Linked DNA regions of Homo sapiens: regions 2, 3, 4, 5, 6 and 7 are each linked to region 1. Evidence: promoter capture Hi-C in human tissues and cell types (Jung and others, 2019). All regions are on one chromosome and are shown on one strand. The core of a region is centred on a gene start or on the middle of the fragment in contact, and the rest is flanking DNA. Distances in the headings are between cores, read along the strand shown.

The links. Contacts are between HindIII fragments. The study calls those that stand out against the background at their distance.
Region 2: a fragment that was not itself captured here is called in contact with the fragment with the promoter of ADAMTS1 in region 1 in 1 of the 25 tissues and cell types used here (mesendoderm cells).
Region 3: a contact is called between a fragment that was not itself captured here and the fragment with the promoter of ADAMTS1 in region 1, in 6 of the 25 tissues and cell types used here (H1 embryonic stem cells, IMR-90 fibroblasts, dorsolateral prefrontal cortex and 3 more).
Region 4: a fragment that was not itself captured here is called in contact with the fragment with the promoter of ADAMTS1 in region 1 in 3 of the 25 tissues and cell types used here (dorsolateral prefrontal cortex, hippocampus and mesenchymal stem cells).
Region 5: a fragment that was not itself captured here is called in contact with the fragment with the promoter of ADAMTS1 in region 1 in 1 of the 25 tissues and cell types used here (dorsolateral prefrontal cortex).
Region 6: a contact is called between a fragment that was not itself captured here and the fragment with the promoter of ADAMTS1 in region 1, in 1 of the 25 tissues and cell types used here (dorsolateral prefrontal cortex).
Region 7: a contact is called between a fragment that was not itself captured here and the fragment with the promoter of ADAMTS1 in region 1, in 2 of the 25 tissues and cell types used here (dorsolateral prefrontal cortex and mesenchymal stem cells).

What each region holds. Positions count from the first base shown.
Region 1 is chr21:26,843,489-26,847,504 of GRCh38, forward strand. ADAMTS1 (ADAM metallopeptidase with thrombospondin type 1 motif 1) reads right to left here and starts at 1,921. Exons shown (of 9, transcript NM_006988.5): 1 at 737-1,921. The coding sequence starts at 1,466. RefSeq lists enhancers at 2,105-2,705, 2,706-3,305. The HindIII fragment of the contact is 5,494 bases long and covers 1-2,931 here.
Region 2 is chr21:28,158,630-28,162,645 of GRCh38, forward strand. The region is part of intron 5 of LINC01695 (long intergenic non-protein coding RNA 1695); the gene reads right to left. Among named protein-coding and RNA genes, the nearest start is that of LINC01695, 68 kb to the right of the region's middle. The HindIII fragment of the contact is 7,950 bases long and covers 1-4,016 here.
Region 3 is chr21:28,138,128-28,142,143 of GRCh38, forward strand. The region is part of intron 5 of LINC01695 (long intergenic non-protein coding RNA 1695); the gene reads right to left. Among named protein-coding and RNA genes, the nearest start is that of LINC01695, 89 kb to the right of the region's middle. The HindIII fragment of the contact is 3,850 bases long and covers 211-4,016 here.
Region 4 is chr21:28,116,473-28,120,488 of GRCh38, forward strand. The region is part of intron 2 of LINC01697 (long intergenic non-protein coding RNA 1697); the gene reads left to right. It overlaps LINC01695 (long intergenic non-protein coding RNA 1695), which reads right to left. Exons shown (of 6, transcript NR_126012.1): 6 at 1-3,402. Among named protein-coding and RNA genes, the nearest start is that of LINC01697, 70 kb to the left of the region's middle. The HindIII fragment of the contact is 6,644 bases long and covers 1-4,016 here.
Region 5 is chr21:25,593,646-25,597,661 of GRCh38, forward strand. It overlaps MRPL39 (mitochondrial ribosomal protein L39), which reads right to left. Exons shown (of 10, transcript NM_017446.4): 6 at 3,657-3,769; 7 at 248-313. Among named protein-coding and RNA genes, the nearest start is that of MRPL39, 12 kb to the right of the region's middle. The HindIII fragment of the contact is 7,524 bases long and covers 1-4,016 here.
Region 6 is chr21:25,623,240-25,627,255 of GRCh38, forward strand. No RefSeq gene overlaps it. Among named protein-coding and RNA genes, the nearest start is that of JAM2, 14 kb to the right of the region's middle. The HindIII fragment of the contact is 3,979 bases long and covers 1-3,679 here.
Region 7 is chr21:28,036,284-28,040,299 of GRCh38, forward strand. No RefSeq gene overlaps it. Among named protein-coding and RNA genes, the nearest start is that of LINC01697, 10 kb to the right of the region's middle. The HindIII fragment of the contact is 3,864 bases long and covers 1-3,603 here.

The DNA of each region.
Region 1 (4,016 bases), core at 671-3,170:
TGGAGAATAAGCACTGCACAGAGAGAAGGCCGTAGCAGGAAGGACCGGCAGTGACTTTCAACAGTGCTTGAGAGCAGAATTATGGCCGCGAGAGGGAGTGCAAACTGGGAGGCGGGGCAAACCCGGGAAAGACCTCCCAAGCAGGTTCTGCGAAGGGGCCCCACCGCCTTCAGCCCGCCTGGGTCAGCCTTATAAGGGGGAAAGGGGACAGAAGTCTGCAGAACAGAGATCCTAGCGTAGCCGCTCAGGGTACCTTCCCAGGTCACCATTGCTCCTCTGCCCTCTCCACATCCGCCCTCCCGTGAGCGCAGGATGCACGCACAGGCAGCGGTTACAAAACTCAGCGCAACGTTGCAACCCGCACAAAAGGCGCACACAAAATCATTAAAAAGAAATACACAGAGTGGAAAGAACTCGCACAAGCTCCAACTCGCTAAAGGTGGAAGGAGTCAGGTTACAAACTCTCCCTCCCCGGCCTAAATGCTTTGCTTTAGTTTGCAGAAAATCGTTTGTCAGTTTTTTTCTTGGTTATTCATTATTCGGGCAAATGCAAGTATGTTTTCTAGCTGAGTTCACCAATCCAAACCTCAAACCACATTCCTCCACTCCAGGCCTCCGTTCTGTCCGCGGACTTATGATCCTGCCTGCCAGCAGGAGTCTACCCTGAAGTCGCGTGGGATAGATAAAGTGAGGAGAGGAGGATGAATGGACAGACAAACGAGAGCAATTCTTCTACCTGTGGGCTGTCCTACGCCTTGCAGTGCCGGGTCCTGCGGCGACCACTGAGCCCCTTCGTCCTCGCCCTCAGTCCCTTCGTCCTCGTCTTCGGTCTCCGCTTTCCCAGTCGGCCGGGGCTCGTCGTCCACGACCCCGCACGTGCCGCCGACGTCGCCCTGCCGATTCCGCCGCAGGAGGTGGAACTGTAGTGGTGCCGGCGGCTTCTCCCCTGGGGCGGCGGTGGCGAGGCGCTCGCTGGCGGCGGGCAGCGGCTGGATGAAATACGCCTCCCCCAGCAGGTAGAAGGCGCCGCGCACGCCCTCGCAGAGGCTGAGGGCGGCAGCCGAGCTGGGATCGCCATTCACGGTGCCGGAGTAGAAGCAGTGCGCCAGGTCGGTTTCCGGAAGCGGCGTCTCGGACCCGGATTTGCGCCCCACGTTCTGGAGCGTGAAGCCGGGCGCCAAAAAGCTGCTGTCGGGCCGCAGCTCCAGATCCAGCTGCTGGTCAAAGGCGTGCAGGCGGAGGCGCGTGGTCCCGTGTCCCGGGGCGCGCTCCAGCTCCGGCACCACTAGCTCCTCGTCCTCCTCGGAGGGGCGCCCGAGTGCGTCCGACACGGCCAGTAGCGCCGCGGCGAGCAGCAGCAGCGTGGGTACTGGCCCAAAGCTCCGAGACCCCGGAGCCCGCTCCGCGTTCCCCATGTCGCTGCCCAGCTTGCGCCTTCCGAACCCCTCGGGCACAGCTCGCTGCATTGGAGCCCCAGGAGACACCGCTCGTAGCAGCGCACGGAGCGAGGGACCTTTAGTTCGGGTCGGGAGAGCAAAGCCTCGTTGGCCTGCTCTGGATTGTTAAAATTAACAATTTCTATTATTCGTTGGAAGGGCGCGCAGAGCCGGCTACAGCCGAAGCTCCCGGAGTCACTAAAAGGAGGCGCTGCAGTTCTGCCGGCGCGCGGGAAGTTTTTCTTCCAGCGCAAAGTTGGAGACACTGAGAGGCAGGCGCAGGCAGAGTGGCTCTGCTGGGACAAGAAGCGCTCTGGGGCGCCTCCGGGGCTGAGGCAACGCGGAGATTGGTGCCTGGCGCCCCTCTTCGGCCTCCGCCTTGGCTGCGATGTTGCTCACTCTGCTCAGGGCTCTCCCCTCTCCGTCCGGTAGCGCACCCTGGCTTTGCAATAGCCCCTGGCTCGGAGCCGCTTTCCAGCGAGTGCAAGAACCGGGCAGCCGAGCGGTCCTTTTATAGTGGACCAGTGAAACCCCCACCCCCACCCCACTCCTCCCCTTTGGCCCTTTTCCATCCCAAAGACGCCGCCCCCGGCTCCGTTGGTGCTAAACCGCGCTCCGCGCTGCGGGCTCGGGAGGGGGAGGGGGCAGCCTCCGCGCTGGCTCCACGCCACTGCTCGTCAATCTAGGGGCGGAAGGGGCGCTGTGACCAGCACTTTGTACTGCTGGGGCCGCTCCAGGGAGAAGACTCTCCCTTCCACCGCTTTTCTCCCTCGCCGGTTTCCTGGACCACCCTTCCTCCCCACCGCCCGGTTGCGGTAACTCAGTTACCGCGCTGGGCTGCGGTTCCCAGGAGGGAGGGTTCGGTTGGAGAACGCAGTCCCTTCTTCAACATTTCCCTATCCTGGAGCTGCCCTGGGTCTCCTTCCCTCCTCCCTCAGTTCCCTCTTCCCCAATCTAGGAGATGAGCTAGGGCTACACTTTCTAGAAAAATACCTCACCCCACTTCTCCACCTTCCCAGCCTGCCAGGAGCTCCTTAGCCGCCGCCTGCTCTCTCTTCGCCCCAGCTTTTCTAGGGAAAGCTTGGCCCTGCGCTTCCCCCAGAAAGCATGCCTGGGTGAGGGGCCAGGTGACACTTCCTACGATCTGGATTTTAAAATATGTTTGCTTATGCCTTCACCCTCCACCAACCCCCACCCCGCACGCCACCTCTTCACCAGAGACGACTTTGTGAGGGCCCGGTTTCACATTTCTGGAATGGGTGATCTGGGACGCGGCTCAATTCCCTAGAGCATAAGGAGGGAATTGCGCTTTTTCTTCTTCATTCGAGAAATGATCGGCTCCCGCCAGTCTGCGTGCTTTCACTCAACAGCAGCTGCAAGCCCTAGGCCAGCGTCGCAGAAACGGCCAGGAACCCCACTTTCCTACCCGGGGGCCAGCAGCGATCGCTGGGGCTAGCAAGCGTGCAGAGGGGGAAAGAAGGAAATCGGCTTCCTTCCCGGACCCCTCCTTCCTCTTCCTACCAGGAAGGGAAAAGGCTATATCCGCGTTACGAAAGCGAGGAGAGGTCCACCAACAGGTCCTTAGGAAAAAAAACTGAGTGGCTCTTCTCTCCAAAAAGTGGGAGGGGCTCAAGGACCCAGAGGAAGGACGTGTTTCACAGGCGGAAAGCCGCGGGGACAATGGCGAGAGCGACCGCCCTAGCCCCGGGCGGACCCGCAACCCTCACACTCGCGCGCCCCCGCGTTAGTGCTCGAACTGGTCTCCGCCTTTCCGCCCCACTCCCGTCCGGTCTCTTGGTTGGCTCCAAGTAGATCTGGGTCCTTTCCTCGCTCCTCCCCAGATCTTCCCCACTTCAGTTGGCCCCAGCCAGAAGCGTCCCTTCTAGTTCTCCCACACGTCCCTCTTACAAGCTTTCTTTTCCGGATGCTTTCCAACTTCTTTTTTCCTAGCGAGATTGCTTACTTGAAAAACAAAAACAAAAACATTGCTTTCCACTCATCAGGAAAAATCAAATGAGCAAGAATGGCAGAGAGAAGCAACTCAGCTTACTTCTGAAGGGCTTAGTAACGACCTCTAGTCCCTACACATTTAGGAGTGGGTGGTTTCGTAGATTTAATTTTGGTTTCCTAAAATCACCCTCATCGTTGAACGTTGAATAATCAACCAAGGCCTTAGATATATTTTGACAGCGCTCGATTAACATTCTGATAGTGTTTCTGCCTACCTCTTTTCACTGAGTCTCTCCTTTGCAGCCCTCGCTGTCTCTCCCCCCCTCCCGCCGTTGCATTTCTCCTTCAAACTCAACATTGACATCCGCACACCTGAGTGTGTGATTCCTTTCTGCATTGTCAAGCATTGTCCAGCCTACCTCCTTCTCTTCGACTTCGAACTACGAGGATTATTCCTTCCTGTTTCTCTGTTTCCCAAGCGTCTTTTCCCAAACATCTGATCATTCCTACTTCCCAGTTTGGTTTTCAGACTTTTTTTTTTAACATTGTTATCTTCTATTACAGTAATTTTTTGACGGTCCATTTTCTATGATTTCATTTCATTTTACTGGTTCTTTCTAGCTAGAAAAA
Region 2 (4,016 bases), core at 828-3,327, 1.3 Mb after region 1:
TTCTCTTTACTAGTTTATTATAGAGGAAATTACAAAGGATACAGATGAAGAGATGCATAGGGTGAGGTATGGGGGAAGGGGTATGGAGCTTCCATGCCCTCCCTGGGCTTGCCACCCTCTAGGAACCTCCACATGTTCATCTATCTGGAGGCTCCCTGAACCCCATCCTTTTGGGGTTTTATGGAGGCTTCATTACATAGTCACAATTGACAACCGTGTAGAAATGTGACTGGACAAATAACACATAATCTAAACCCAATGAGGCTTGTCTCTTCAGACTTTTCTTGGCCTCTTTGTGTAGCATTCTTTCTTCTAGGGTAGGAGCAGGGACCTTCTTTGGAATGAGAACTTTTTTTTTTTCTTTTTTTTGAGACAGAGTCTTTCTTTGTTGCCAGGCTGGAGTGCAGTGGCACGATCTTGGCTCACTGCAACCTCTGCCTCCTGGATTCAAGCGATTCTCCTGGATTCAAGCGATTCTCTTGCCTCAGCCTCCCGAGTAGCCGAGACTACAGGCACACACACACCACCACACCCAGGTAATTTTCGTATTTTTTAGTAGACATGGGGTTTCACCATGTTAGCCAGGATGGTCTCGATCTCTTGACCTCAAGTGATCCGCCCGCCTTGGCCTCCCAAAATGCTGGGATTACAGGTGTGAGCCACCATGCCCTGATGGAATGAGAATATTTTGAACTACAATCAGATTAGAGTCTTGCCTGTGGAAGAAGGACAGGAGAATTTCAGAGAGAGAAAGAGAGTTTCTGTTCCATGAGGTCTGCTCCTGAGGCCTAAAGTGCCCCAGCATTATAATAGAAGGGTATAAAAGGGGCTATGGGAGTTATCAACCAGGAATCATCAACAAAATCACAATATACTTCCGTCAAAAATGTAGTAGCCTTCTTATCTATGTACTTCCTGTCAGTTCCTTGTGACAGAAACCATACCCATTGCTCTTTCCTTGATTTAAATCTCAAGATTAATTAGTTCCTTGTTCCCATCATCATGTGTCTTTCTCAAAAGAATGTTGTTTACCTTAAGATGATCTGGTTCTCTGGTTCTTTAAGTTGTAACACCACAACAATAAAGTTCTAGGATAGAACTTTTTTTGTTTTAAAAAACGTATTTTTAAATGCCATGAAATTTAATGTGGCCCTCGGAAGTCTGAAGTGGGAGAATAATGCATTGACAAAGTTTACTGAACTGGCAATTCCTTTTCCTCCCACCTACAGTCTCCAAGCTGCCACTCTTCCTGCTCTCTCTGTCTCTCTTAAGGGCTAAAGATGCAATGTTTCTGGCTTCAGGGATCACTGGAACTATTTATTTCTTTAAAAATGGTTTTTATGTCATAGCACATATGATAAACCTTAATATTTCATGATACACTTAATGATATTGTACTGCATACCCAGGCTAATAGAAGAGGCTAGTCTCAATTTGCAGCAATAGCTCTGGCTGTGTAAGGCACTCACAATCAGATACAGTAGGGAATTTGCATCTTGGGCATATATGTCACCTGTACCCAGCTTGATTTGGGAGATTATGCAACTCATATCAACTTCAGGATAGCACTCACTTCTACAGAAGGAGGTAAAGGAAATGGATGGTCAGGATGGAATAGGAGGCTCAATTGTATTTATAGTGGTTTGAAACATGTTTACAAATTATTTGATGCTTTCTCATCAAATGACAGAGTTAATTTTCTCCCCTTGAATCTGATTGTCCTTACTGACTCCTTAGGAATAAAACATTGTTGAAATGATAGATGTGACACAGAAAGATAAGCCATACAAGATATTTGTAGTTTTCATCTTGTCTCTCAGAGCACTCACTTGGAGAGAAAGCCAGCTGACTTGTGAGGACACCCAGGCAGCCCTATTGAGAGATCCATGTGGGGAGAAACTAAGGCTTCCTAGCTAAGTCATGTGAGTGAGCAAACTTGAAGCTCGATTTCCCAACCCCAGTGAAAGTTTCAGATGACTGCACCTCTGGCCGCAAACTTGTGAGAGACTTCAAGCCAGAAGCATCCCACTAGGCAACTCCTAAATTCCTGAGCCTCAGAAACTGTGAGAAAATAAATGTTATGGTTTTACATCACTTATTTTGGGAGCGATATATTATGAAGCAATTCATTAACTAAAACAATATTTGTAATGTTTTATGCTCAGAAAATCTAAAGCAAATATGTGAAAATAGGATAAATTAGGGTAGGTGGCAGGTACATGAATGCCACTGAACCTGTTTATTTAACACTTATATTGAATTTACTATGTTTCCTTCATTGTTCTATAATGCATTTAATTCTTATGAGTACTCTATGTGAAAGATACCCTTCATTTTACAGATGAGTAAAATGGAGTCTAGAGAGATGCTATACATTGTCAAAGGTCACCAATGAATAAGTAGCACATACAGAATTCATACCTGGACAGTATTACTCTGTGGTTTCTAGTTTTAGCATTACACTATTTTATGGATTATAACAATGTCAGTTATTTGCAAATCTTTGAAATATTTCATAAATCATGAAAACTTAAATGATGAGATCCTTTTTTCCATCATTTTGATAGCCTTTTGTATATGCAAAGATTTATAATTTGTCTTTGTTAACTTTTTGGGCAAAAGGAGAAAAATTTAAAGATTAGAATGGAAAAAAAAGAAAATAAAAATAATTTTATATTCAGCAGCATATTAAGAAACTATTTGTTTATTTCCTAAAACATTAAGGCCAGAGTTTTTGCCTTCCATGGTTCAGGGGTGATTTAAAATTTGATGACTTTCTTCCTGAAAATCATATTTATGTGTCCTGTCAGGCCTTGAGCCCAAGCTAAGCCATCATATCCCCTGTGACCTGCACATACACATCCAGATGGCCGGTTCCTGCCTTAACTGATGACATTCCACCACAAAAGAAGTGAAAATGGCCTGTTCCTGCCTTAACTGATGACATTATCTTGTGAAATTCCTTCTCCTGGCTCATCCTGGCTCAAAAGCTCCCCTACTGAGCACCTTGTGACCTCCCACTCCTGCCAGCCAGAGAACAACCCCCTTTGACTAATTTTCCTTTACCTACCCAAATCCTATAAAACGGCACCACCCCTATCTCCCTTCACTGACTCTCTTTTCAGACTCAGCCCGCCTGCATCCAGGTGAAATAAACAGCCTTGTTGCTCACACAAATCCTGTTTGGTGGTCTCTTCACACGGACGCGAGTGAAATTTGGTGCCGTGACTGGGATCAGGGGACCTCCCTTGGGAGATCAATCCCCTGTCCTACTCTTTGCTCCATGAGAAAGATCCACCTACAACCTCAGGTCCTCAGACTGACCAGCCCAAGGAACATCTCACCAATTTCAAATCCAGTAAGCGGCCTCTTTTTACTCTCTTCTCCAACCTCCCTCACTATCCCTCAACCTCTTTCTCCTTTCAAGCTTGGCGCCACACTTCAATCTCTCCCTTCTGTTAATTTCAGTTCCTTTCATTTTCGGGTAGAGACAAAGGAGACACATTTTATCTGTGGACCCAAAACTCCGGCGCCGGTCACGGACTCGGGAAGACAGCCTTACCTTGGTGTTTAATCATCGCCGAGATGCCTCTTGGATTATTCACCCACGTTCCACTGGTGTCTGATCTCCGCAGGGGTGCCTTCCTTGATCATTCGCCCATGTTCCCTTGGTGGCAAGTCAATTGCAAGGACGCCTGCTTTGGCTGCTCACCCACGTTGCAGCCCAGGGCTGCTCCCCACCCCCTTCTCCGTGTCTCTACCCTTCTCTTTAAACTTGCCTCCTTCACTATGGGCAACCTTCCACCCTCCATTCCTCCTTCTTCTCTCTTAGCCTGTGTTCTTAAGAACTTAAAACCTCTTCAACTCTCGCCTGACCTAAAATCTAAGCATCTTATTTTATTCTGCAACACCGCTTGGCCCCAATACAAACTTGACAAAGGCTCTAAAATAGCCACAGAACGGCACTTTCGATTTTTCCATCCCACAAGATCTCGATAATTCTTGTCGTAAAATGG
Region 3 (4,016 bases), core at 886-3,385, 1.3 Mb after region 1:
AGTTGTTACATAAAACACACGTAAGCGATTCAATGTTAGGAAAATATATTTAGCTTTCTCAAAATTTTATTTCATAAAGCAAAGTTTCCTACATTAACTATCCAGCTATCTGTTGTGTTTTTCATCATCATCACAAATGGATTCAGACTGGCTACCATATAAAAACACTCATAAATTCTAGGAATGCCAGAAGTTCCTGTCCTCAACTATCTAATTGTATTCTTTAGATAACTTCACATATTATGAAGATAAATAACTAGCGATACAGCAGAACCCATGGTAAATAGCACTGAGTCATGCAGTTAATGAGCATAATGTGGACAGAAGAGAAAATCACTGTTGCTTCTGTCCCTTGGAGCAGGTGGACTTCAGCTGAAACTTGAGGGAATACTGTCCATTCTGTTTAGGAAGCATTGCTAGGAAGAGTGTATTGCCAGCTGCTTGTGTTTTTAAAGTCACTGCATGCATGTGTGGTAATTTGTTATGGCGACATTAGGAAACTCATACAAATTTTGATGTCTGAGAGTTATATACTGCTGTAACAAATATCTATAAAATGTCAAAGTGGCTTTGGAATTCGGCAGTGAGTGAGGCTAAGAGAATGTTGAAGGTCATCCGAGAAAAACTTACATTGTTTTGAACACATTGTTAGTAGAAATGTGGTTGTTAATGATTCTGCTAGAAAGGACTTAGAAGAAAGTGAAGAGAAGAGCATGGTAGAGAAGGCATAGACTGCGTTAGAGCATACATGAATCAGCATGAACAGACTTAGTAAAAATAGGGACATAAAAAGTACTATTGGTGAAGGCTTAGAAGGAAATAAAAAACACATTAAAAATTTGAAGAAAGAATTTCCATATTATATAGCGGTAGAAACTTAGCAAAGTTGTCCTACGTTCAGGTGAAAAATAGAACTTGTAAATGATGAAATTGAATACGTAAGTAAGGATATTTCCAAGCAAAGGGTTGAAGAAGCCGCCTGGCTTCTTGTTTCTTCTCATAGCAAAATGCAATGAGAAAGAGATAATTTGAGAAAAGAACCGTTTAAACAAAAAGAAACCAAGACATAATGATTTTGGAAATTCTCAGTTTATTCAGACTGCAAAAGATATTAAAATAAAGAAACTCAGTAACAGGGATAGATAATCTAAAGAAAAAGCCTAGGACACGGCTGTAGTAACCTTCTGTTTTTATACCTCAGCAATTTGCTAATGCCTCAAAAAGATCAAAAGTACTCAAATATAAAGGGCTCTTTGAAGAGATTAGATTTCCTCAATCAAACCAAAGAGCATCGAGGAAGCTTAAGGTTACTGTCCCTCACATATCTCAGCAGAAGGCAAAAATAGAAGACTGATTATCTAAGAAAGATCTCTGAAAGAGTCTCATATTATGGAGTGAACCCCTGTGGCATACATGGGAGACCCACTTGGTTCTTGAGAATTTTATATCAGGAGAAACACTGTCAGTCTGTATTGAAAGGAACAGAGAAAATACGAAATTAAAGAAGACTATTAAACCTCCAAAATTCTGGCAGGAAAGAAGCTTACACAGCTACTCAGTTGCAAAGATCTGCCACTTTTCATATACATGAAAGGACTCAGAGGAGGAAGCCACAGGTTTAGAAGGAAAAGCTAAAAGCAACATCGTATTAGTCTTGGATCTAGGAACCTAATTTCTCTAGCAGAATCTAGAAATGGCTTGGGACAAGTGATTGTTTTTTTACCTAGGATTTTCTCCCTCTTGAAAACAGGACTGTCTGTAACTATTATCCTATGCCTGCCCTACCATCATATTTCAGAAACAGGTAACTTATGTTTTCACTTTCAAAGATTCACAATAAAGAGAAATTGTACCTCAGAATGGATTATACCAGAGCTTTCCTCATGCATAAATTAAATAATTTAGGTTATGTGATTTGAAGCTTTTGAGTGGGTGAGGTGACATTTTGGATGCTGAGTTGGTGCCGTAGTGAGTCCAGAATTCTGCGGAACTTGGTTTCGGTTAATGAATTTTGTAGGTGAGATAGTCTTAAATCTTTAGAGTTTAGAAAGTGGAATGTCCTACCCAGCATAAAAATCCCCCAGTGATGTACATGTCCTAGTTCCCAGAACCTATACATAGGTTAACATATATGGCAGGCGTGATTACGATTAAATAATTTGATATGAGTAGATTATTGTCAAGGTGGTCCCAATCTCATCACAGCAGTCCTAATAAGCAGAAAACCTTTCCAGGCTTCCCTGTTGTCAGTGAACCAGGGAAGCCTGGTGTGTGGGAAGAACTCTATTCGCCATTGGTTGCTTTAAAGATGGAAGGGGCCACAAACCAGGAAATGTGGTTGGTTTCTAGCAGCTGGAAAAGGCAGGAAAGAGATTTTCCCCTAGATCTTCTGAAGAGAAATGCAATCCCACTAATACCTTGATTTTAGCTCAGTGAAACTTTTGTCAGACTTCTGACCTATAGAACAACAAGGTAATAAATTATTGTAGTTTTATACGACTAATATTTTGGTAACTTCAATGGCAGCAATAGAAAACAAATGCATGTAAAAATTATTGCCCATGAAAACTTTGTTTCAGTAATGTATATATACATATATCTCAGTCATATAGATAAAGAGGTACATACATACATACACATACATATATGCTACAGAAAGTTCACCCTCCTCAAAGTAGTATGCAAATGGACTGTACAAACTGAAACCATGAAAAGTGATTTTAATAATCAATGGGAAAAATTATAATTGTACCGTAATCTTTAATGATGTTTGTCAAGACTTTACAATCTCTCTTATTGTTGGTTATAAATTTACAAAGAATTAAAAGGTAATAAAACTAGTCTTACCTAGTACTCTTTAATTTAAAACACTTGAAACATTGAGGTTGAAGTACTTTACTTCTTTGTAAAAAACTTAGTATAAATTGTTGATACACTCAACACTTGGATGGAAATTGTTGGGTATTACTTTAAGGGAATTATACTAAATGAAAAAAAATGCAATCTCAACAGGTAACAAATTGTATATTTTCATTTATAAAATAGTCACAAGATTACAAAATTGTAGAGGAGGAGAATAGATTAATGGTCATAGGACTTAGTTGTTTCGGGGGAAAGAGGTGGGTATGATTATAAAGGAAGCATGGTTCCTATGCTGCTGGAACTGTTGTGATTGGAGTCGTGGCTACGGAAGGCTACATGTGTGCTAAAATTGCATAGAACTGCATATGTACATGTTTATATATGTTTTTATGTTTATTGTCATACAAGATGTTACCATTTGCAGAGTCTAGGTGAAGGGTACATGGGGGCTCCTTGTATGTTTTTTGAAACTTTCTGTGAATCTATACTTATTTTAAAATATAAATAAAATCTATCAACAGTTTTTGTCCTCTACTTCTTATTTATAACAAATGATACAGAGTGAGCATTTTTTTCTATGCATTGACAACTTCTCATATTCCTATCTAACCTTGGACCAACTCTCAAGATTTTATCCTTTGTGCTTTCAATATCTGGAAAAAAATCCTGAGATTTCCTTTCATGTGAAGGTTTTTCCTGACATCACTTTCTCTCAGACATCTTCATAACTGCCTTCACAATGACTTTCATTTATTTATTTATTTATTTATTTATTTATTTATTTATTTATTATCTTTTTTTGAGATGGAGTCTCACACTGTCACCCAGGCTGGAGTGCAGTGGTGTGATCTTGGCTCACTGCAACCTCCACCTCCCGGGTTCAAGCGATTCTCCTGCCTCAGCCTCCAGAGTAGCTGGGATTACAGTCGCCCGCCACCACGTCTGGCTAATTTTTGTATTTTTAGTAGAGATGGGGTTTCACCATCTTGGCCAGGCTGGTCTTGAACTCCTGACTTCGTGATCCACCCCTCCCTCGGCCTCCCAAAGTGCTGGGATTACAGGCATGAACCACCGTGCCCGGCTCACAACCATTTTCTTAATTTACATTAATAAGTTCATCTTCAATGAGTGTCTTTGACTACATACTAAAGTCT
Region 4 (4,016 bases), core at 531-3,030, 1.3 Mb after region 1:
CTCTCGCAAAAAAGTGAGAATATATGAAGTTTGTCTTTCTGTGTATGGCTTATTTCACTTAACATAATGACCTCCAGTTCCATCCATGTTGTTGCAAATGACAGGATTTCATTCTTTCTATTGCTGAATAGTACTCCATTGTGTATCTGTACTGCATTTTATTTATCCATTCAATTCTTGATAACACTTAGGCTGCTTTCAAATTTTGGAAGCCAAAAGAATTTTTGAGGAAATCAACCAGACAATTGTCAAATTTATACGGAAACACAAAGGACCTTCAATAGCCAAAATAATTTTTAAAAAGAAAAGATTTTGAGGGCCTACAGGTTATGATTTTAAGATTATAAAGCTGTGTTATAAGACAATGCAGCAAAGCATTAGAAAAAAGATGGAACAGGATATAACTGTATTAGTCTGTTCCCTCACTACTGTAAAGAACTACCTGAAACTGGGTAATTTATAAAGAAAAGAGATTTCATTTGTTCACAGTTGGGAAGCTGTATGGGAAGCATGTTTGGGGAGACCTCAGGAAACTTTCAACCATGACGGAAGGTGAAGGGCAAGCAGTCACGTCTTACATGGCCAGAGCAGGAGGAAGAGAGAGTGGGGAGGTGTTACACACTTTTGAACAACCAGATCTCATAACTCACTCGCTGTCATAACAACAACACCAAAGGGAAAATCTGTCCCCATGAACCAATCACTCCCCACCAGGCCCCACCTCCAACATTGGGGATTTCAATTTGACATGATTTGGGTGGGGACACAGACTCAAACTGTATCAACACCCAAACACATATAGTCAATTGCTTTTTTGAAAAAGTTCAAGGACATTTAATGGGGAAAAAAGTATCTTCAATAAACTAGTGCTAGGACAACTGAATATCAGCCTAAAAGTTGTGTATCTATTCTTACCTCACCCCATCTACAAAATTAACTCAAAATGGATTATAGATTTAACATATGAGCTGAAATATAAACTTAACAAAAGAAAAGGTAGGCATATATCTTTATCATCTTGTATAGCACTGACCATGCGAGAAAAAAGAATAAATTGACCTTATATGGGACTTATATATTCAAATTTTACAAAAGAAAAAACTTGGCCGGGTGCGGTGGCTCACGCCTGTAATCCCAGCACTTTGGGAGGCCGAGGCGGGCAGATCACGAGGTCAGGAGATGTAGACCACGGTGAAACCCCGTCTCTACTAAAAAAATACAAAACTTAGCCAGGTGTGGTGGCGGGCGCCTGTAGTCCCAGCTACTCGGGAGGCTGAGGCAGGAGAATGGCGTGAACCCAGGAGGCGGAGCTTGCAGTGAGCAGAGATTGCGCCACTGCACTCGAGCCTGGGCGACAGAGAAGAGACTCCGTCTAAAAACAAAAATAATAAAAAATAAAAATAAAAAACATATTAATAATGAGAAAGTAAACTGTGATTTAGAAACTGGACAAAAAATTTGGACAACAATTTCATACAAGAAGGTATGAAATAAGTAAATAAATATAAACATACACAATATAATTGGCTGTCAGGTATACAGAAATTATAACTAAAGTGAAATATTACTACACAAACAGAAAATCTCATCAAAACAACTTTTGATGATTTGACATATAACTTTTTTTACTTTAAAATGGTGCAAAAGCAATACACATTCAGTAGAAAGCAGTAGAAAACCCTCTTGGGATGTTGGACAGTGGCAGGGAGCTAAGGCTTCCAGTCAGCCACAAGATCACCAGAGTAAACAAGAGATACTCTACAGTTTGCTGTGTTGCCAGATGATTTTGCTCAAGTGTAGAATAATGTAAGTGTTGTGAGCCTGTTTAAGGTAGGCTAGGCTAAGCTATGACGTTTGATAGTTAAAGTGTATTAAAAATGCATTTTCAACTTGTGATATTTTCAACTTAACAATGGATTTATTGGGGCATAACCCCATCGTGAGTCGGGGAGCATCTAGTACTAAAATGGCTAAAAGTAAGACCAACAATATCAGGTGTTAGAACGGAGAGCAACAGGAAAACACCACCAAAGAACTACCTGAAACTGGGTAATTTATAAAGAAAAGTTATTTATAACTCATAAACTGCTGATACATATAAAATATATAAAATGAAACAACTAATTTGCAAAAGACATTGTGGTATAATCACACAACCCTAGTTGGAAATAAAAGATATGAATTACTGATACCCCAAATGACACAGATAAATCTCAAAAGCACCACGCTGAACAAAAGGAGTCAGACACAAGAGCACACATCTATTTGAATCCATTTACGTGACATCTAGGACAGGCAGAACACCAGTCGACAATGACTGAATTCATATCCATTGGTGCCTGTGTTGAGGACTGGGGAAGATTGTCTACAGAAGAGCATAAAGGAACACTTTGAGAAGATAAAAAAGATCTAATTTTCAATTGTGGTGGTTACATTGATATGTACAGTTAGCAAAACTTATCAAAGTGTACTCTTAATGTGGTCATTTAATTATATGTAAATCATATCTCAATAAAAGTCAATTTCTTTCAAAAATACCACAAAAAGATACCACCAACAGGGAGTAGAATGACTAAAATTTGTTAAAGATTTACCATAAGTCCTTTCTGTTGGAGATTATGTGCAGTAACAAGAAACTTTTGTATATTTTGACTGAAGGTATAAATAGCACAGCTACTTTGGAAAACAATTGTTCTATTTAAAACAGTTTACATAATGTTAAAAATAAAAATATCACATGACTCAGTAATATCATTCTGATAAGAAAAATAAAAATGTATGTATCATAAGATCTGTACAAAAATGTTCATAACATTTCAAATATCCCCAAACTGAACACCCTAAATGTCCATTAACAGCTGAAGAGATAAAGAAATTATACTATATTCACATAATGGAATATTACTGAACTATAAGAAAAAACTCCTGATATATGCAACTGATTCATAGAGGAATCTTAAAACATTATGCTGAGGAAAAGGAGCCAAACACATAAGCATACAAATTAAATGATTCATATATATATATAACTCTAAAACATAAAAACTAAACTTTAACAATAAAAATCATACCAAATCCATACAAAAACCTACATATGAATGTCTATACCAGTTTTGTTATATTTTATTTTGTTTTTTGAGACAGGATCTCACTCTGTCACCCAGACCGCAGTGTGGTGGTGCGATCTCAGCTCACTGCAGCCTTAACCTCCCGAGCTCACGCAATCCTCCCACCTCAGCCTCCCAAGTAGCTAGGACTACAGGTGTGCGCCACCACGCCCGGCTAATTTTCATACTTCTGGAGTCACGGGATTTTGCCAGGCTGCTCTTGAACTCCTGAGCTCGAGTGATCTGCCACCTCGGCCTCCCGAAGTGCTGGGACTACAGGTTGCGTCACCACACCCTGTAACGGTTTCATTTTTAATTGTCAAAACTAGAAAACAACCAAGATTTCCTTCAGTGGAGGAACGGAGAAATAAACAATGGTATATCCAGACAATGAACTATTATTCAACTTAGGGGAAAGAAGAAGCTATCAAGCAAAAAATAAAAAATAAATGGAGGAAGCTTAATGCATATTACTGAGTGGAAAAATCCTATCTGAAAATACTATTAATACATACTGTATCATTCCAAATATACAACACTCTGAAAAAAAAAACAAAACTATGGTGCAGTAAAAGGATCTGTGCCAGGGATGAGTAGAGAAAAGAGATGAATAAAAAGAGGTGAATAAGCAGAACACAGAGTTTTATGGCAGTTAAACTACTCGAAACGATACTTCAATGGTAGATACGTCTCCCTGTATATTTGTCAAAAGCCATATAATATATAAACCAAGAGTGAACCCTAATGTAAACCCTGAATTTGGATGATATGATTTGTCAAGTTAGATGCATCAATTGTAATAAATGTACCACAGTGGTAGGGTATATTGATAATGGAAGAGGCTACGCTTATTTGGGGGCAGGGGATATGTGAGAACTCCCTGTACTTACTGCTTAATATCGTTGTGAA
Region 5 (4,016 bases), core at 1,517-4,016, 1.2 Mb before region 1:
TCAACTCAAAATTAAATAAAAATAGCAAACAATAAAATGAGGATTATAGAAACCACAAGTGTTCCTGAAGATAATTTAAAGCTTCCATTTACCACCATAACAAAACAATGAACGAAGCAACCAAAAATAAGGTAATAAGAACAAAATAAGACACAAATTCATCTTTTTTGGTCATATGCTTCATTCAGATAACAATAAAGCTAAGCCTTACTCTAACATAGCAGCCAGTTTTTAGACTTTTACTTACCTGTGTAGCTTGACTATTCTCTCAGGGTTCTGAGATGCCTTCTCTTCTATGAAATCTACTTTGTACCTGAAAAGCAGCAAAGAAAAAAACATTTTTTTAACTCAAAATATGTAAAAAGGTGTTTAAAGATACCTCCCTTTCTCTTCCTCTTCAGCCATACTTTCTGAGAGTAGGTTACACTTGGAACCTCCCTTTAATCTGGCCACAGCCCCATGACTCTGCCAAACTGTTCTCAACAAAGTCACAGACCTGCTTGGTGTCAACCCAGTGGACATTTTTTGGTCCTCATTTTCTTAATACCAATGCTCACCTCCACTTCTCAATGTGTTCTTTCTTTCCATTTTTATTTCTTTGTTCTTTTTTTTTTTTTTTTTTTTGAGGCAGGGTCTTACTCTTATCACCCACCCTGGAATGCAGTGGCATAATTATAGCTCACTGCAGTCTCAAACTTCGGGCTCAAGCGACCCTCCTGCCTCAGCCACCCAAGTAGCTGGGACTACAGGTGTGAGCCACCATGCCGGGCTAACTTTTTTTGGTAAAGATAGGGTCTTGCCATGTTGCTCAGGCTGGTCTCAAACTCCTGGTGTCAAGCAATCCTCCTGCCTCAGTCTCCCAAAATGCTGGGATTATAGCGATGAACCACCACATCCAGCCTCAAAGTGCTCTTTCCATGGGTATCAGTGGCATTCCTTACTGCTTGTTATTTTACATCTCTGGCCACTCCTGTCTTTCTCTACCCTTTGAGAATTCTATCCTACACCCTCTTTTCACGCTAAGCATCCTCCCTAGGTCAGCCCCTTGAGCTACAACTTATGTAGTTGTATGTCCTATATCTCTGCTTCTAATCTACCTACCTCTTCTGACCACCAAACTGTATATCCAAGACCCATTTGGACATCCTCTAGGATGTTCCACAAGCACCTTACCCTGAAATTTGCAAACTGCACAAATTACCACCTCTTTCCCCGCCCAAACTTGTTCTTCCTCCTGAATTTCCTGTCTTAGTACGATACCACCAACCACCCAGGTGTCCATGTGAAAAACCTGGGAGATTTCCTTGATTCCTTTCTCCTACCATATCTCCTTTATTCAATTCATTATCAAGTTGTCAATTTGACTGCCCAGTATCTCTCAAATCTACCCAATTCTGTCAGTATAGCTAAAGGCACAGATGAAACTGCACAGCCCAGGTTCAAACCATGACTTTACCATTTACTATTGAGAGCTTTGTCTGTTTACCTCAGGGTGCTAAACAAGTAATATGTGTAGGTGCACCACAGGTGTATGCACAATTATGTGGCAAAGTTAGGGAACACTGGTTTATGCAAAAACACCCACTGACTGCTACAGTCCCCCAGGCACTAATAAGGGTGCCAATTCCCTTGAATACTTATCCCTCCTGACCCACCTCCAAGAGATGCTCCTGTCCCCTGAGAGTCAAAGCCACAAAAAGGTCCCACCCTTACTCCTGCAGCAGAAGGACTCAATCACTGACCCACCTTCAATGAACCAACTCTTTTGTCCTATCAAGCTTCCTCCAGAATTATCCCCTTCCTCCTACCACACACTCAACTAAGTTACAAAAGTCCCAGAAGCCGCTACCAGTCCTTGACAGTTAGAGGAATGGGAAATCTCAATGTGTACTGAATGGAAGTCAAAAGTACACTGTCCAGTAAAGTACCATGGTGCACTTAAATGTGATTAGTACTAGTTAAAATGTGCCTTAAGTGTAAAACACATACCAGGTTCTGAAGATTTAGTGAAAAAGAATATAAAATAACATCAATATTTTAATATTGATTACACTGAGTAACATTTTAGATGTATCATTTAAATAAAATCATTAAAATTAACTTCAACTTTTGTTTTGACTTTTTTTCAATGCAACTACAGAAAATTTCAAATTATACAGATGTCTCATATTATATTTCTTTTGGGCAGCATGTGCCTAGACTTTTGTCACAGAGAGTGACTTCACGTGTTCAGATAGTCCAAAGAATTTTCTTGTCGAATCAATGCTATAAATGGTGGTTTGGTTCTACAATACTATCTGTACTCTAGTTAAAACAGTACATTACAACTGGTTTCTAAATCCACTGGTTCCAGGACACGCTAAAAATGTTTCAAGAAAAAGTGTTTCATGGGCAAATATATTTGGGAAATTTTCAATGTCCACTTTGGGAGACCGTTGAGTGCGATGAGTAAAAATTTTTTTTTTTTTTTTGAGACGGAGTCTCGCTCTTTCGCCCAGGCCGGACTGCAGTGGCGCCACCTAGGCTCACTGCAAGCTCCGCCTCCCGGGTTCACGCCATTCTCCTGCCTCAGCCTCCTGAGTAGCTGGGACTACAGGCGCCCGCCACCACGCCCAGCTAATTTTTTGTATTTTTAAAAGAGACGGGGTTTCACCGTGTTAGCCAAGATGGTCTCGATCTCCTGACCTCGTGATCTGCCCGCCTCGGCCTCCCAAAGTGCTGGGATTACAGGCGTGAGCCACCGCGCCCAGCCGAGTAAAATTTTTTAAGCCACTGTTCTTCAAACTCAGCTTAACACAGTACATGGTTTCACATGTCAATTAACATCCTATAGAAGAATACTATAAGACAGACTGCTTTGAGAAATGCCAAGCTATAAAGTATGTGTCAAAAACACACTCATAACCCAATATATTTACGATAACCTATCCCTATGAGAATTTGTAATTCAACTTCTATATACCTAAAGAAATTCTAATCAGTAAACTTTCACAATTCTTAGGTGCATATTTTGGCTTCAGACTCTGTTATTTTTTTTTTTTTACAGCACAGGTTTCTCTTTCTAGTTAGTTCTAATATTGTATTAGATTAATGTTAAAATTTAGCTCATGTTCTTACAACTGGTAGTAGAAGGTGAACTGAAAGTTTTCTGAGAACTGAGAAGCCAGGCAGGAATTAAAATGTTAAAGAAAATCCATCAAATGAATAATTCACATGCAGAAGATTAAGACCTGGCTGTGTAAACATTTTACTTCAGCTGTCAGCCCCCTCCCAAACTGCTTGCATTTTCAATCTTATCAGTGTCATTTTAAGTGTGGAGGGGTAGGAGAGAAACACTGCCAAATACACACAATTATATAGTCGCTTAACGTACATTATCACTTCACACTAGAAAGAAAAAAGGGAAACATGCCACTATGTTGATATAATGAGAAAGGCTGGTCCAAGAACAGAGAAGTAAAACAAAGTGAGAAAATTATCAAGGGACATGGGTAACATTTTCCTCAGCGAAATAAATGAGATCACAGAGGTCTCAGACTGGAAAATAATACACTGTCACATGTATATCAAATATAAAAATTTTTAAGACCTGAATTTTCTTTATTACATATAATACTGGGAGAGTTAGCCTTGATTTAAAGAAAGCCAACACTTACTTGCTGTGTTGAAATATTTCCAATGCCACTTTTGCTTCAACTTCCAGAGTTTCAAATGGAAGATCTTTATAAATTAAAGCATGAGCATCTTTTGTGAAGGAACGTAAGTTCTCCTTAAAAATGAAAGTAATAACCTTTAGTAACAATTCACTGAAAAGCATTTCTCCATAAGCCAGTTGAAACAAAACTCTATGCTTAGTACTGCAAATCCAACTAAAATAAAAGATAAAATCAAATTTGTTAGAACAGAAAGTTACTAATTTGCAACAACTGAAGTTTTGGACCATAAACTATAAAACTTCTTATTTACCTGTAATTAAGGTGTCAGCCTTCATTAATACTAATTATTAAAGAGAAAAC
Region 6 (4,016 bases), core at 440-2,939, 1.2 Mb before region 1:
TAGTTTAGAGCAGTGGTTCTCAAGCTTTTTTCATTATATCCCCCACCCAAGTAACGTTTTTAGACCTTTTCCTAATCTCCCCCGTGACATTTTAATGCAGTTGATCAATGATATATCTGTTTATGTACTGTATATGTATCTGTGTTTTAAAGATTAAAAGAGTAAGCTTTTTCTTCAACCCTCAACAGAATAATTTTCTTTCCCTTGGGAAAATATTGCCCCTGCTTGAGAATGCATGGCCCAAAATAGGTATCCAGATTTGATGCAGTAAGAAAATGTAGGATGAACAATCTTCCTCAAACGTGGCTCTTCTTTGCAGCTTGTTATTTTCAGTAGCAGAAAAGGAGGTAGCTATTTTATTACATTTGAATATTGCCTTGCTGTTCCGTGTGGTCCACGATCACCAGCACCTGGGAGATTGCTGGAAATGCAGGATCCCAGCCTCACCTTGTCCTGCTGAATCCAAATCTGCATTTTAACAAGACTCTCTGTTGATTCCGATGCATGTTGAAGCCTGAGAAGCACTGGTTGAGAGTTCAGTCCCCTGCTCAGTTGGAAAACATTAAGTGTAACTTAGTGTGAATAGAAAAAAATAGGCATAGGCCCTAAAACCAATGTTTAAGTCTCCCCATCCCTTTCTCTCAAGTCCTCACTAATACCCCAAGTTTCTTTCTTAAAAGTCATCAGTATTACTTTTCCAACTTAGACCTGAGTGTATTTTGTTTGTGTGTGTGAGAAAGGTTAATTTTATTTACTTCTCCTAAGCAAGCAAGGGAAACGGCCCGTGGAGTTTCACCCTGCTAGCTCCTCTGCTTCTTTCCTTGTGCTCTTCTATTCTAAAAAGCAGGGACCTTAGATTCAGTTGGACAGAGCAAGATAAAAACAAGAAAGAACACAAATTTCTGTTTTTCTCCCCAATAAATTGGACTTTCAACTCTCAGTCAAGACCTCTTTAAAGTTAAACTTATTTTAATAGTGATCATTTCTCTTGGATCAAGTGAATAAGTGGACCCAGGAACACAATAAAGAGATTTTCTCTATTTTTGCTATTTTGAAGAGCCAGCAAGTTAGTGCAGGGAAGAGGGTATAGAATTAACTCAATATACTTGGGCCCTTATTTATGAAGATGAGGTTAACTTATTAATTTTTTTATGTATGTGAAATTTTGAAATATGTGTGAAACATCTCAACCATACAGAAAAAGCAGAAAAAATAGTGTAACAAATTCTAGATACTCACACCTAGTACTATGGTCTGAATATTTGTGTTTCCCCAAAATTCAGATGTTGGAACCTAATCCCCAATGTGCTGGTACCAGGAGATGGGACCTTAGGGAGGTGATTAGGTCATGAGGGTAGATCCCTCATGAATGGGATTAGAGCTCGTATAAAAGAGCCAGAGGGCACCCTCTCCCCTTCCACGGTGTAAGGACTCGGTGAGAGGCATTATCCGTGAATCAGAAAATGGGCCCTAGCCAGACACTGCATCTGCTGGCAACCCTTTGATCTTGGACTTCCCAACCTCTAGAACTGTGAGAAATACATTCCTGTTGTTTATAAGCCACCCAGTTTATGGTATTTCCTTATAGCAACCTGAACAAACTACAGCACATAGGTTAGCAATTTGCCACATTTTGCTGCTTCTTTATTTTTCTGAAGTATTTTAATATAAATTATGGATAGTATGACATTTCACTTCTAATTCTACAGTGCGTATGTTTTTTTTAAGTAACTTTTTTATAAAAGATGAGTTTTAATTAACTAAAACTGTTGAGTTTAAAACTACAGGGATTTCCAGTAGCAAAAAGCTTCCATTATTCTTCCTATTGCTTTTTCTCCTAATAGCAAAGGTCAAGAAAAGAACTTGAACCTGCTAGAATTGTTCCAAGTACCAGCTGAGGCTTTATTCTTTGGTGTTTCAAAAAAAGCCTTGACAGTAGAAAGCTAAATTCTCTTTCATCATAAACCATTGATAAACTGTGGTCAAGTTGGGCCAAAAGCCAAATCCTTCCTCACTGAAAAAAATGCTGTGGAAAGATTTCGCTAAATAACAGTAGCTCTTTCTTAACTAAGAATCTCAGTTAATATTTTGGTGCTTTTAAATGCAGAAAGAGGGAAGGGAGGGTAGAAAAAAGTGATAAAAGGAGAATCAGAAGAGAGAAAAGAAACAGATGATCTTATGAATCCCCAATTTATATCCCCCAATTAAGGCATCTCTTTCTTCTGTCTCCCTATATCCCTTTCTATTCTAACATTATTGACCCACTACAATAAAATTAAGTATACTTTAGGCTGGGCATGGTGGTTTACACCTGTAATCCCAACACTTTGGGAGGCCGAGGCGGGTGGATCACTTGAGGTCAGGAGTTTGAGACCAGCCTGGGCAACATGGTGAAACCCCATCTCTACTAAAAATACAAAAAAATTAGCCAGACATGGTGGTGCACGCCTGTAATCCCAGCTACTCAAGAGGCTGAGGCACGAGAATCGCTTGAACGTGGGAGGCGGAGGCTGCAGTGAGCCAAGATCACGCCACTGCACTCCAGCCTAGGCCACAGAGCAAGACTCTGTCTCAAAATAATAATAATAATTATTACACTTTAAACAGAGACAGGGAGAAAATGTGTTCCAGTTCAGTGGCCGGGGGCAGTAAAGAAAAAAATAGCTGTAGTAGCTGAGTCCAGGTCGCTTACCATTTTGACATCTTTCCAGCCCTAGTATATGGTTTTGCTATTAGGAGAATTGCTTAATCTGGCTGGGTGCGGTGACTCACGCCTGTAATCCCAGCACTTTGGGAGGCCAAGGTGGGCAGATCACTTAAGGCCAGGAATTCGAGACTAGTCTGGCCAACATGGTGAAATGCCGTCTTTACTAAAAATACAAAAATTAGCCGGGTGTGGTGGCACATGTCTGTAATCCCAGCTACTCAGGAGGCTGAGGCAGAAGAATCACTTGAATCAGGAGGTGGAGGTTGCAGTGAGCCAAGACTGTGCCACTGCACTGCAGCCTGGGAGACAGAGGGAGACTCCATCTCAAAAAAAAAAAGAATTGCTTAATCCAGCCGGGTGCAGGTGCAGTGACGCATGCCTGTAATAGCAGCACTTTGGGAAGCCAAGGCGGGCAGATCACTTAAGGCCAGGAATTTGAGACTAGTCTGGCCAACATAGTGAAACTCTGTCTCTACTAAAAGTACAAAAATTTGTCAGGCATGGTGGTGCACGCCTGTAATCCCAGCTACTCAGGAGGCTGAGGCATGAGAATGGCTTGAACCTGGGAGGTGGAGGTTGCAGTGAGCTAAGATCCTGCCACTGCACTCCAGCCTGGGAGACGGAATGAGATTCTGTCCCCCCAAAAAATTTTTTTTAATTGCTTAATCTTTGTTTCTGAATTTGCAGACTCAAACATAAGAGCAGTGTAGTTTTCTATTTGAAAATGCCTTTAAGATCACATATCTCAGTCCCATTTTCTGTATACAAAGAACCAAAGTTCCAGAGGTGTTAGGTGGCTTCTCAGAGACTGGGTCTGAGGGAAAAGCTTTTTGCTTCTGGAATGGCCAGTATATCTCTACCTTTGATTTTTAGTGCTCCAGGATGTTGAGTCCCTATCCTAGGAAGGAATGACAAGGATGGTCACTTCCGCCACAGGCCCTCACCCTGCATCCTGCTTGTTAAACATCATCCACCCCAAGGGGCATTTTCAAAGCCTCTGCTGTTCCTTGCCATTGTGTGCCCTGGCTCCAAGCCAACAGACAAGCATTTGAACTTCTGTCTCTGTGATGACGTCTAGCTTCAGGGAATCAACAGCCTGGCCTTCTTTATAATGCTAAGCTTCAAGGAAGAAAATATCTTGCAAAACTGGTCCCATTCCCAGGAGCACTCCCATCTATAAGGTGCATGGCCAGCCTTATCATTCTGTGAAACAAGGAATCATTTTAAAGGCTGTGATACAAGAAAATATCTCCTTCTTTGACTTCTCCTGAGAAACAGAAATCTTGGCTAGTGGGGTAGACAGAATGTT
Region 7 (4,016 bases), core at 422-2,921, 1.2 Mb after region 1:
GGCATTTTAAGGAAGCAGGATTACAAGGTTTGATCAATTCCACTCAGTTTATATGCATTTTCTTCTCTAAAAGCTCCATTGCCTGACTTCACCTAACTTTAAGAAAAGCAAAACATGCAGTTGAGCTGGGTATCCAGGGGCATTAAAAAAACAGGATTAGGCCGGGCGCAGTGGCTCACACCTGTAATCCCAGCACTTTGGGAGGCCGAGGCGGGCAGATCACTTGAGGTCAGGAGTTTGAGACTAGCCTGGCCAACATGGTGAAACCCCGTCTCTACTAAAAATACAAAAATTAGCCAGGCATAGTGCTGGGCACCTGTAATCCCAGCTACTTGGGAGGCTGAGGCAGGAGAATCACTTGAACCCATGAGGTGGGGCTTACAGTGAGCCGAGATCGCACCACTGCATTCCAGCCTGGGTGACAGAGCATGACTCTGTCTCAAACCAGCAAACAAACAAGCAGGATTGAAGATCACTGAGCAACATTTAATTTAGGAAGTGTTGCTCTTGTAAGCAGGGTAGCCAGAAAAAGTTTTCCTGGCCTTTCTGAGGAAAGCAGGGGGCTAATGTGGCAGAGATTTGCAGGGGGCATTCTAATATTTAGGCTAGCTTTGTGCTTCTGAATTTATCTCTTTACAGATAGATTAGTCATGAGACTGAGCAGTAGTTGTTGAAATGTGGGAAGGAAAAATACAGGCCATTTACAGGTCAGACTCCTAAAACTCACTGTACTCTTCTCCTTGCTTTTTCTTTCTCTCTTTGGGAACAAAATCAAGGACTTAATCTCGGCTTAGAAGAGAGCTAACCAGAGGTGCCATAGTCAAAAGTTCAGTTTCCACCAAAGCCCAGTAACAGGCCACAAGCTGTCTCTCAAAAAGAGAGTAGTTATCTGCAGAAGATGGCAGGGCCTTGCTAGAAAATTCTAGAGGCCCCTGCTGTGATTGACCTATAGGGGCCTGCCAAAGGCTCCAAACAGCATTCCTATCTGCCACTGGCACCTCAAGCACCTTTGTATCTGCTGGGTCATATGGCCCAAGTGGCAGAGCAGCTTGCATAGCAGCCTGGACCTGTTGCAGAGCCTTCTCCTGTTCTGGTCCCCATTCAAAACTGGAAACTTTTTGGGTCAGTCAGTAAATGGGCAAGAATAACACACCCAAATGAGGAATGTGTTGCCTCCAAAATCCAAATAGGCACAAAACCACTAAGTGTTGTGCCTTTTTCTTGCTTGTAGAAAGGGCCAAGTGCGGCAACTTATCCTTTACCATAGAAGGAAGGTCTCAACATGTCCAACACCACTAGACCACTAGACCCCTGGAAATTTTACTGAGGTAGAAGGTCTCTGAATTTTAGTCAGATTTATTTCCCATCCTCTGGCATGCAAATGTCTTACCAATAAGTCCAGTATGTTCGCTACTTCTTGCTCACTGGGTCCAATCAGCATAATGTCATTAATGTAATAAACCAGTGTGATATGTTTGTGGAAGTGAAAAGTGATCAAGGTCTCTTTGAATAAGATTATGATCCAAAGGCAGAGAGTTCACATACCCCTGAGGTAGAACAGTAAAGGTATATTTACTATAAAGGTATACTTACATTGCCAGCTGAAGGCAAATTGCTTCCAATGGACAAGAATAGAGAAAAAGGCATTTGCCAAGTTAATGGCTGCATGCAAGGTACCAGCAGACGTGTTAATTTGCTCAAGTAATGAAACCACAACTGGTAGAGCTGCTGCAATTGGAGTCACCATTTGGTTAAGCTTACAATAATCCACTGTCATTCTCCTAGATTCATCTGTCTTCCCCACAGGCCAAATAGGAGAGTTGAACAGGGATGTAGTGGGAATCACCACCCCTGCGTCTTTCAAGTCCTTAAGGGTGTCACTAATCTCCGTAATCTTTCCACGGATGCAATATTATTTTTGATTTATGATTTTTCTAGATAGAGGCAGCTCTAATGGCTTCCATTTGGCCCTTCTTACCATAATATCCCTCACCCTGCCAGTCAGGAAGCCAATGTGGGGGTTCTGCCAGCTGCTATGTATGTCTATGCCAATTATGTATTCTGGCACTGAAGAAATAACCACAGGATGAGTCTGGGAACCCCCTGGAGTTGTGTAAGTAGGGCCTGAGCTAAAACTCTATCAATTACTACCTCCATAAGTCCCTACTTTAACTGGAGGACCACAGTGACATTTTGGGTCTCCTGGAATCAACGTCAGCTTAGAGCCAGTGTCTAATAGTCCCTGAAACGTCTAATCATTTCCCTTTCATCAATGCACAGTTGCCCTGGTAACAGGTCAGAAGCCTCCTCGGGGAAGAATGGGAGAAAGAATAACAGCATAAATTGTCAGTAGTATAGTGGGGTTCTTGATCAAAGGGACCTGGCCTCCCCTTTATTCAAGGGGTTCTGGTTCTGGCTCCAATCTGGAAATTAATTGAGGGGCCATGGTTCTCTGTTTTTATCATTCAAATTAGTCTTTTGTCCATTTGACCTGGATGTTTTCTGCCTATATAAATTAAGCAGGAATTCAGTAGGCTTCCTATCAATTTCATTTCTAGGAACATCACGATTAGCCAATACCAGAGCTCTACACGAGTTTGCACTATTTAATTGCTGCTTTGCCTCTGCTGTCCATTATAATAGCTATGCCCACCTTGCCTTTGATGGTTTAGTGCTGCCACTTGGCCCCTGCCACCTCAGGATCCAAGTATTCCCATTGTATTTCAATTTTGTAGTTGAGTGACTGCAGTTCCCACTGTTAGATCTGATATACAGAGAAGAGCAATTACAGGGCTCTTCAAAGATGCAGGTGCTGCTCTCACAAGTCTATTTCACAAAACACTGGCCAAGAATATATCTTCTGGACCCACCCAGCTCGGATAGGTAGGTGTAAAGTGACTAATCTCCTCCATCATCCCAATCTTTCTAAGCCTTTTGATTCTTTCCTCTACATTAACCCAAGGGAGGAAATTAGGCATTTCCAGCTCGCTCACAGTAGGCTATCTTTTAATCCATATTTCAGCCAACAAAGCAAATAAACTATCAGAACCATTTTTTAACTCCCCAAGCTGTAACATTAAATGCAGAGTCCCTACCTAGTGGGCTTAAATCAATACGTTCAGCCTGATCCAACTCTATGTTCCTTCCACTATTATCCCATACCCTTAATATCCATTCCCATTCCTGTTCTCCATATTTATGCTTATATAAATAGAAAGCTCAAGCAGTTCTTTTGAGTGTAGTGCACCTCCTCATAGGTCACACTCTCAACCTCCCCTTAGGGGGGGCCAACTGGGACTTTAGACTAGTTATAGGCCCAGAAGCAAACAGGGGTGTTGGGGGTGGCTCCTGAGGAGAATCAACATTATCTTGCCTGACGACTGCCTCAGGGGAGGCCATCACTGTTGCCTTAGGCAGCGCAGGGTTTATCTCCTCAGACAAAGGTGGAAAGGCTGATGGAAGCATGGACTGGGGAGGGGATGTTGCCACTACTGGGCATGGAGAAGCTGTTTCTTCTGGCAAAAAGTGTTCATCAGAGTTGACAATCTCAGTGTGCCCACCTTCATCAGAGTCCTCCCACACATTCCCCTTCCAAGTTGCAGGGTCTTATTCTTTTCCAATTAATGCCCTCACTTTAACAGTAGACACCTGGTGAGGCTGTGCATGCACCTTTCATTGCAGTTCAGCCACTCACATAAGAGCTTGTGTCTGTTTTTCCACAATTTCAGCTCTGTCTCTACAGGAGATAAGACTCCCACTCCTGAGTGGTAATCTTAGCAGATTTGATACTTAGCATCTGCTTCTGAAGCTGGGAGTTAGAATCCCTGAGTTCATCATTTTCTTTCATCCTTTTGTCAAGTGAACTTAGGAGCAACCAACCAACTTCATTTTGTTCCTTTATTCTCCATATATAGTCACTAAACTCCTTGACTCTCATGAGCAGTGAATCAGGGGTGCCAAATGCTTTTATTTTTCATAACTATCTAAGCAGTCCATGCCAAGGACTATCAGTGTTC